Linked DNA regions of Homo sapiens: region 2 is linked to region 1. The links are contacts of gene promoters, found by promoter capture Hi-C in blood cells and fetal thymus (Javierre and others, 2016). All regions are on one chromosome and are shown on one strand. The core of a region is centred on a gene start or on the middle of the fragment in contact, and the rest is flanking DNA. Distances in the headings are between cores, read along the strand shown.

Region 1 (4,091 bases), core at 655-3,154:
ATCCACCCGCCTAGGCCTCCCAAAGTGGTGGGATTACAGGCGTGAGCCACTGCACCCAGCCGAAATTTATTTTTTTTTCTTTTGAGACAGAGTCTTGCTCTGACGCCAGGCTGGAGTGCAGTGGCATGATTTCAGCTCACTGCAACCTCTGCCTCCCAGGTTCAAGCAATTCTCCTGCCTCAGCCTCCCGAGTAGCTGGGACTACAGGCATGCGCCACCATGCCCAGCTAATTTTTTTTATATTTTTAGTAGAGACAGGGTTTCACCATGTTGTCCAGGATGGTCTCGATCTCTTGACCTCATGATCCGCCTGCCTCGGCCTCCCAACGTGTTGGGATTACAGGCGTGAGCCACTGCGCCTGGCCCAAAATTAATTTTTATAATGTATTTTTCTTAACCCAGTATACTCAAAATATTATCAGTTCAACATACAATCAATATAGAAACAAATTATTCAGGTATTTTACATGATTTTCTTCACACTAAGTCTTTGAAATATGGTGTGTATGTTAAACTTGTGACAGTTTGGACTGGTCACATTTGGAGTGCTCAATGTGCACCTGTAGCTGGTGGCTACTGTCTTAGCCACTGTAGGCCTAAAGTTTCCCTCAAAAGTGAGACCAAACTCAACAGGTCTCCCTATCTCAGGCCTTGCCCTCCTTGGCCCATTCTGAAACTCCACTGGCTACTAGTTATCCTTCCAAAAAACAACTCAAATCATGTCATCCCCCTGCTTAAAAGATCTCTGATATCTCCTGCCCTTCTAAGACAAAGTCCAAGCACTTTGGCATAATTTGAAAAACTCAACGACCTGACCCCAATTTCCTTTTTAAAAAATTATTATATATTTTTTTAGAGATAGGGTCTCTGTCACAAAGGGTGGAGTGCAGTGGTGTGATCACAGCTCACTGGAGCCTCAAACCCCTGGGCTCAAGCATCCTCCAGCCTCAGCTTCCTGAGTAGCTGGGATTACAGGTGCACCACCCAATTTCCCTTTTAAACTGCCCTCCCCTCTTCACCCTCTTCCCCACAATATGTGCCCATAATGCTAAGAACTTCTCAAACCCAACAAGCTTTTCCATCCTCGGTCCTTCTTGCATTTTTCTCTCTCCCCTTGAACATCCATCCATCCATCCATCCATCCATCCATCCATCCATCCATCCAAGGAGTACCTACTAAACCTCAGGTGGACGTTGGACTCAATTCAGGGGCTATCGGGAAACCTCTTCGACACTCTTACTCCTCTCCAACGCCCTTCCCCACCACCCACCTCTGCGCCCCCAGCTCTAAATTTAGCTCCCAGGACGCCGCTGGTTGGTTCACTCCTCCTCCCACACCCTCTCTAAAGGCCGGGAACGGAATTGTTAGCCCCTCCACCCCCACCCCCATCAAGGTCAAGAAATTGAAGCGGGGCGGGGGGCGGTGAGCATAACTACTCAATCCCCATTTTCTCATCTGAGGAACTAAGGCACGAAACAGGGAGTGCCGAAGGGTACACCAGGCCTGATGTCCTAATGCAGAAACCGGGCCTTCCTGCAGTGGGCCGGGTCAGCTCGGATCTCCGCGCGGTCCTGAGTCGCCGCCCCCAACCCAGCCAAGGATTAATTTAGGCGAGCTATCCCGCCCGCCATCCCCATATCCGTCCCTGCCAGCGTGGCGGGGAGGGACCCCGGACGGAGGGGCAGTCGCTGCGGGGCGGCGCCAGCGCCCGTGCGGAAGAGCCCGTGAGCAGACGGGAGTGGGTCGGGGGGCGGCGGGGGATCCCACGTGGAAGCAGCGTCCTGGAGCTGGGTGGGGCTGCGGCGCGGACTACAAATCCCAGGGGCGTGGGGCGGGAGAGGCGGAAGGGGCGTCCTGGGGCGGGGCGGCACGGGGCGAGGCGGAGCGAGGCTGGAGGCGCGGGAGGGCAGCGAGAGGTTCGCGGGTGCAGCGCACAGGAGACCATGTCCGGGGGCAGCAGCTGCAGCCAGACCCCAAGCCGGGCCATCCCCGCCACTCGCCGGGTGGTGCTCGGCGACGGCGTGCAGCTCCCGCCCGGGGACTACAGCACGACCCCCGGCGGCACGCTCTTCAGCACCACCCCGGGAGGTAGGCGCGGGCTTGGCGACGCCGCTTGCCGGCTCCTGGGCGGGCGGGAGGATCGGGAATCGCGGATTGGACCGGGTGTCCAGGCTCAAGGGCGCCGTGATTGGAAAGAACGGAAAAGGGGCATCGGAGAGACAGCGAGGGTCATGGAAGTGGCCGCCCGCTTCCCCTCTGAGTGCGTCTTCCAGACCCGAGTTACAAACTGCCCCGTTTGTTTCCTCTTTCTGTTAGGTGTCAGACAGCTGACACCTAACAAACACGCACGCCTCCAGGACAGCCACATGCCGAGCTGTGCTGCCCCTTGTGGGTGTTGGGGGCGCTCCCGAAGCGGGAGAGGGCGGAGTTAGGGTGGCCCACGATCCAGGAGAGGCCTGGCCTGGTGTTTTTATGGGATGGGTATTATCTGTTGGGATAAACGATTCCTGCAGGGCCCTTTTTCCTTCCCGAAGCACGCCGAGTTTTGTGTTGGACTCGCGCGCTCTGACTGAGGTTCGGATCTGGGGGTGCTTGCCTGCTCCAGCAGCGCCTCCCGGGCACCTGTGGCACGTTCCCCATTTACGCGAGTGGGATCTCCGCGGGGGGGACCCTGGCGCCACGGCCAGGGCTGTGCAGAAAAACACGTTCTTCTGTCCGGGGAGAGGAGGAGGCACCGTGTGACCTCCCTGGGAGAGGATGAGGAAGAGGAAGCTGAGCTGGCACGGGTGGGGGGGCCAGCCTCGGGCTGCCCTCAGGAACCTGGCATTCCCTCCCAGCCCCGGAGCCCCAGCGCACAGACGCTGATGAAACCTACGCGCCTGTTTGCATGATGAAATAAATCCTCGTGGCTCTCTCCTCCCCTCTCATTGTCGCACTGCCCCCACCCCTTTTTGCTCCTCTCCCTTCATTCTCCTCCACGCTGCTTTCCATACTACTAGAAAACGCGACAGATCCTGGCGCTTGGCTAGGTGGCGGGCGGGGGCCACATGCTTATTTTCTCAGGCAGCTGTCCCACCAGCAGCGAGCGCGGCCAGATCCGAGGTCCTCTGCTGTTTGATCCAAAACATACACTGTTAGAACGGTTAGGGATCTTGTCCAGCCCTGCCGTCTTATTCTACAGAGCCCGGCATTGAGGCCCCAGAGCTTGAACACGTGTCTGTTGCCCATTGTCACACCGTTTTCCCAGATTGGACAAGAAATAGCAACCAGGCAGAGAAGGGAGAAATGCTTCCTTTTCTATTAGAAATGAGCCAAGGAAAAGCTCGCAGGGGCTCTTGTTGCCATTCCCGACTCATCCTCTTTCCCTTGCTGGGTCTTTTGTAGTCCATGCTGTTCTCCTTTGTCTCTGTCACAATGGTCTACCAGGACAATTCCTGACAATTTTGGAGTTCTTTCAAATGAGGGTGTAAGTGTCTGCTGGATTTGTTCAGGGTGGGCCCTGAGGCCGGCCTGAAGGCGCAGGTAGCCCTTTTTTGCACTCTTTATTGCTGGATTGTTGGGTCAAATTGGAAGCCAGGATACTGTTTATAGGCACTTCTGGCCCGGGTACCAAGGTTCACACCTGTAATGCCAGCATTTTGGGGAGCCAAGGCAGGAGAATTGCTTGAGGCCAGGAGTTCAAGACCAGCCTGGGCAACATAGTGAGACTCCATCTCTACAAAGAAACAAACAAAACAACAACAAAATGTTGTCCTAGCTACTACAGAGGCTGAGGCCAGAGGATCGCTTGAGCCCAGGAGTTGGAGGCTGTAGTGAGCTATGATTGACCACTGCACTCCAGCCTGGGTGACAGAGCGAGACCCTATCTCTAAAATAAATAATAAATATAAAATATAGGAACTTCAAATCCACTTTTCACTTTGGGTTGGGAAGTGGGGAGTGGGCAGGGGGCTGACAGACCACAGCAAATCCCCTTCCCTTTGAAGGTCTTTAGCAGTAGGGGGAGTGGGGAAGGGACTTCTGCATCAGGGCATAGCATATGTTTCTGAGATCACTGGAAGAAGCTAGCAGTGCCAGGAGCCTAAAGCCA
Region 2 (4,287 bases), core at 61-2,560, 140 kb after region 1:
GCAATTCTCCTGCCTCAGATTCCGGAGTAGCTGGGACTACAGGTGCCTGCCACCACTCCCGGCTAATTCTGTATTTTTAGCAGAGACAGGGATCACCACATTGGCCAGGCTGGTCTTGAACTCCTGGCCTTGTGATCCGCCCACCTCGGCCTTCCAAAGTGCTGGGATTACAGGCGTGAGCCACAGTGCCGGGCCCCCAAGCTTTCTAATTCTGGGGAAGGCTAAAATTTCAAATAATCTTCTCCTATTTCATTGAGTAAGACGTACCAGTTAGGAGATGTCTGGGATTATGTTGGGCTAATACATGAATGACAGCAGAAATAAGAGAAATAAATTCCTTTATCAGTTAATTGCTAATACCAAAAAAAACCATAGGAAAATATAAATGAATAAGGAACTTGGAAAACTTGGGCCTAAACAACCACAGAGATCAAAACTTTTGTTTTCTGGAAAGAAACAGCTTTTCTTTTTGTGTGGGTGTGTATGTGATGATCTGCTGAAGATTCAACTTTCTTTTAGTAATTAGGATTCATTTGACCCAACGCAGGTATCCATGGGTTATGATACAGCAAAAACCTATTTTTTCACCTTGACAGATAACTATATTTGTAATCTAAAAGTCAACTTAATAGCCACTACCCTTCCCTCAAAGTACTCTGATGAATCTGACTTAAGAATCAGGACTCCAATTTGTTAACAATAATTATTTTTCCTCTTTCAATTAGTACTACTTGTCCTATTTGAAGTAAAGGAGAAATCTATGTTCATATCTTCCATAATCCTTTTAAGTGTTTTAATTACGTTTCTTCCTCATGCTCAAATCCAGTGATTTCGCAGATATCCAATAAATGTTAGCATGAACATGAAGTTCCTTGAAACAGAAGGAAACATAATCTTTTAACTTAAGAAAAATGCAGGATGCGAAACAAAGACAGAGGCCTCTTATTCCAATGTATCCCTATATGTAAAGTATTAAGCTTAATGTTGGGGTCCTTAAAATAAAGGAAATGCCTTCTACCCAATTTTCATTGGCTAGGGAGGGATTACCTTCACTTCCGGAACTGCTTTGAAGTCATTTTACCCTGCCAATGTAGAAATAAGCAGCCTTGGGCCGGGCACAATGGCTCGCGCCTATAATCTCAGCACTATGGGAGCTAAGACCAGCCTTCCAGCTGTCCCCACTGATGCACCAGACATGTGAGTGAAGCTCCTTCAAACCAGCTGACTCACCTTCTAGACACCAAGGGACTGTCCTAAAACCATGAGGAGCAGAACAACTGCCCAGCTCAGCTGGGTGGGTGGATCACCTAAGGTCAGGAGTTTGAAACCAGCCTGGCCAACATGGCGAAACCCCGTCTCTACTAAAAATACAAAAATTAGCTGGGGGTGGTGGCTGGAGCCTATAATCTCAGCTACTTGGGAGGCTGAGGCACAAGAATCACTTGAACCCAAGAGGCGGAGGTTGCAGTGAGCCAAGATTGTGCCACTGCACTCCAGCCTGGGTGACCGAGAGCGCGTCTAAACAAAAAACAAAACAAAACAAAACAAGCCTCTTCGGTGGACTGAGTTTATTTCTATCATTTGGCTCCCCCTACTGGGGATTCTACTGAAAGCCAGTTTTAGAAACGAGCTTGGAAATATATATAAGCTTTGAACCACCTAATCTGAATGTATAGAAAACAATGATGTACTCACTAAAATCAGTCCTACTAGGTCACACACGTGAAAAAGTTGCAGATAAATTTCAATATTAAATAACAAAAAATGCAATGGGCTGCTGTTATTATCCAGAGTATAAGAGATGTCCATAAATTAATACATACCAAATTGATCAATGCTTCTTAAAAAGCCTATAAGTGTCCTTCCATCTCGAAGCAGAACCAAGTGCTTTTCTGGGGAGAGAGGAAAAAATCTTTTAAATGAAAACTGACAAGTTCAGCGAGTATTTAGGATAATAATTAACAGTTTAAGCTGTACCACTTCCTCGGCCAATGCATTTAATGTGAAGTTCAAGTTCATTGGAAAACTGAAAAAAGCAGCACAGCAACGCGGATTTAGATAACATCAGTAGTGAAAAGAATCAGAGCAGTGTGGCAGAGTGGGAAAAGGACAGGGCGTGGCACCAGGAAGCCTGACTAGCTGGCTCTAGACCCTTATGTTGGTTTTTTTTTTTTCCTTTTTTCTTTTTTTTTTTTTTTGAGACAGAGTCTCACTCTGTCACCCAGGCTGCAGTGCAGTGGCACAATCTCGGCTTACTACAACCTCTGCCTCCCAGGTTCAAGCGATCCTCCTGCATCGGCCTCCTTAGTAGCTGGGACTACAGGAGTTTGCCACCATGCCTGGCTAATTTTCATATTTTTAGTAGAGATGGTGTATCACCATGTTAGCTAGGCTGGTCTCAAACTCCTGACTTCAGATGATCCATCCACCTCCACCTCCCAAAGTGCTGGGATTACAGGCGTGAACCATGGCGCCTAGCCAAAGACCCTTATGTTTGACACTTAAACCATCTCATGTCATGTCAGTTTTTATATCTGTAAATTGACAAATTTAATCTAGATGACTATTATCTTATTTGTAGAATTATTTTGTCCTCAAAAGATGAGCTTCTATCTCACATTTTGTTTGTAACCATAGAAGGCTTTAAATAAAAACACAATGCTTCAGGCATTTAAAATGAAGACTAATAATAAGCTAGAGCAGAAATTCAATGTTTACTGAGGGGGCATGTGCTGTTCTGGGGTCTAGACATACAGTAGAGAATGAGACTTAGAAAGTCACCAACCTTATGAATTTATATTCATGTTGGAGGAGGACAAATAAATAAGAAAATAACCTATTGTGATTAGGACAATGGAATAATAAACTAGCAAGGCAGTATGATGAAGGGAGAGAAGTGGTTACAGAAGGAAGGGTGGCAAGGGAAAGCCTCTCTGAAGAGGTGACTTTGAGCTGACACTGAAGAATGAAAATAAGCCAGTTACTAGCGCACCCAGCAAAATTTCTTTCATTCCATGCCTAAAGTACTTTCTAGATGCAGAACAGAGGAAAAACACAGTGACTCTGCCCTGAAGGAATTTATACTCTTCCTTGCGCTATAAATAAGTACCACAGAAAGCAAATCTTAATTATATGAGACTACAGAGAGAGAAACTGTATTTCTGAAGGAGGTATCAGAGTTGGACCTTAAAAGGTAGATAATTTTAGGGCACAAGAAGAGTGATAGGAAGGGGGCGGGGGGGGAGAAGGAAATCTGTAAATTAAAGAGGAGGAAAAAAGGGCTATACATCCATGTTTAGCTAAAAGCTGAGGGTGTGAAGGGAAAGAACAGTAGATAAAGTCAGAAAAGTACTGGGCGCAGGCTGCATCTGGATTTGACTTCATAGGGAACAAGAAAACATTAAGTGATGGAGTCTGTTTACTGAGTTTGTATAAGTGGGTATGTGTGAGAGGGTGGGGTGCTGAAGATGTGAGGTAAAGATGTAGGAGTTTTATGAGACATCACAAAACTATTTACCAAGAGTTGGGAATAAAAGCAGCAAGCTCAGGGTGAAGGTTATTAGCTCTTTGTGATTCTAAAGTGCTATCAGGACACTTAATAGAAACACACGCAGATAGTTGGAAACAGTAAGACTGGAAAACCAAAGACATCAAGATTAGAGAAAGCAATTTTGGATAAATCTACAAAGAGGTGATATAAAAAACTAAAGTACAGGAGATCTACTAAAGATTTAAAGAAGTAGGCCACATGTAATCCAAGTGACCATCTATTTTGGAGAACAGTAAGAGCCAGAGAAGTAAGAAAATCACCAAGTACCAGTTGTTAGAGAAATCAAGAGAAGAGAATTAAAGAATCTGGTGGGGAGAGTATCACAGTGCTGCAAAGGGGAGAGAACACAGAAGAAGACCTTAGACGAATAACTTTGAAGAATGCAGCTTGAGTAATTTCAGGATAAAAATTAGATTGCAGGAGTAATGTAAGTAGTCTATTGAAGGTGATCAAGAAACAGACAAAATGAAAATGACTCGAGGTTTGGGGATAAAGATATGAAAAAAGGGATGGGCATATGAAGAGAACGGAGAAAATATTTGAGATGGATAGACAGTAACACATGAGGGGAAGAACGCAGGGGTTGGGGAGACAGAGGATATAAAAGAAAAAGGCTAACAACGAAAAAAGGTTCCAGAAGCAGTGAGAGGAGACAGTAACAACAGACAGACAAAAAGGGAGGAATCCTTCCTACTCAAATTAAAGGATGGGTGAAAATACAGAAACACAAGGAGGAA

The links. The method cuts DNA at HindIII sites, captures the fragments that hold promoters and counts their contacts. A CHiCAGO score of 5 or more calls a contact.
Region 2: a fragment that was not itself captured here is called in contact with the fragment with the promoter of EIF4EBP1 in region 1 in 2 of 17 cell types (erythroblasts and megakaryocytes); the score reaches 6.9 in erythroblasts.

Annotation. Positions count from the first base shown.
Region 1 is chr8:38,028,630-38,032,720 of GRCh38, forward strand. It overlaps EIF4EBP1 (eukaryotic translation initiation factor 4E binding protein 1), which reads left to right and starts at 1,905. Exons shown (of 3, transcript NM_004095.4): 1 at 1,905-2,089. The coding sequence starts at 1,945. RefSeq lists a silencer at 1,686-2,125 and enhancers at 1,702-1,996, 2,626-2,725. The HindIII fragment of the contact is 5,036 bases long and covers 1,072-4,091 here.
Region 2 is chr8:38,170,142-38,174,428 of GRCh38, forward strand. LSM1 (LSM1 homolog, mRNA degradation associated) reads right to left here. Exons shown (of 4, transcript NM_014462.3): 2 at 1,824-1,892. Among named protein-coding and RNA genes, the nearest start is that of LSM1, 4.2 kb to the right of the region's middle. The HindIII fragment of the contact is 671 bases long and covers 976-1,646 here.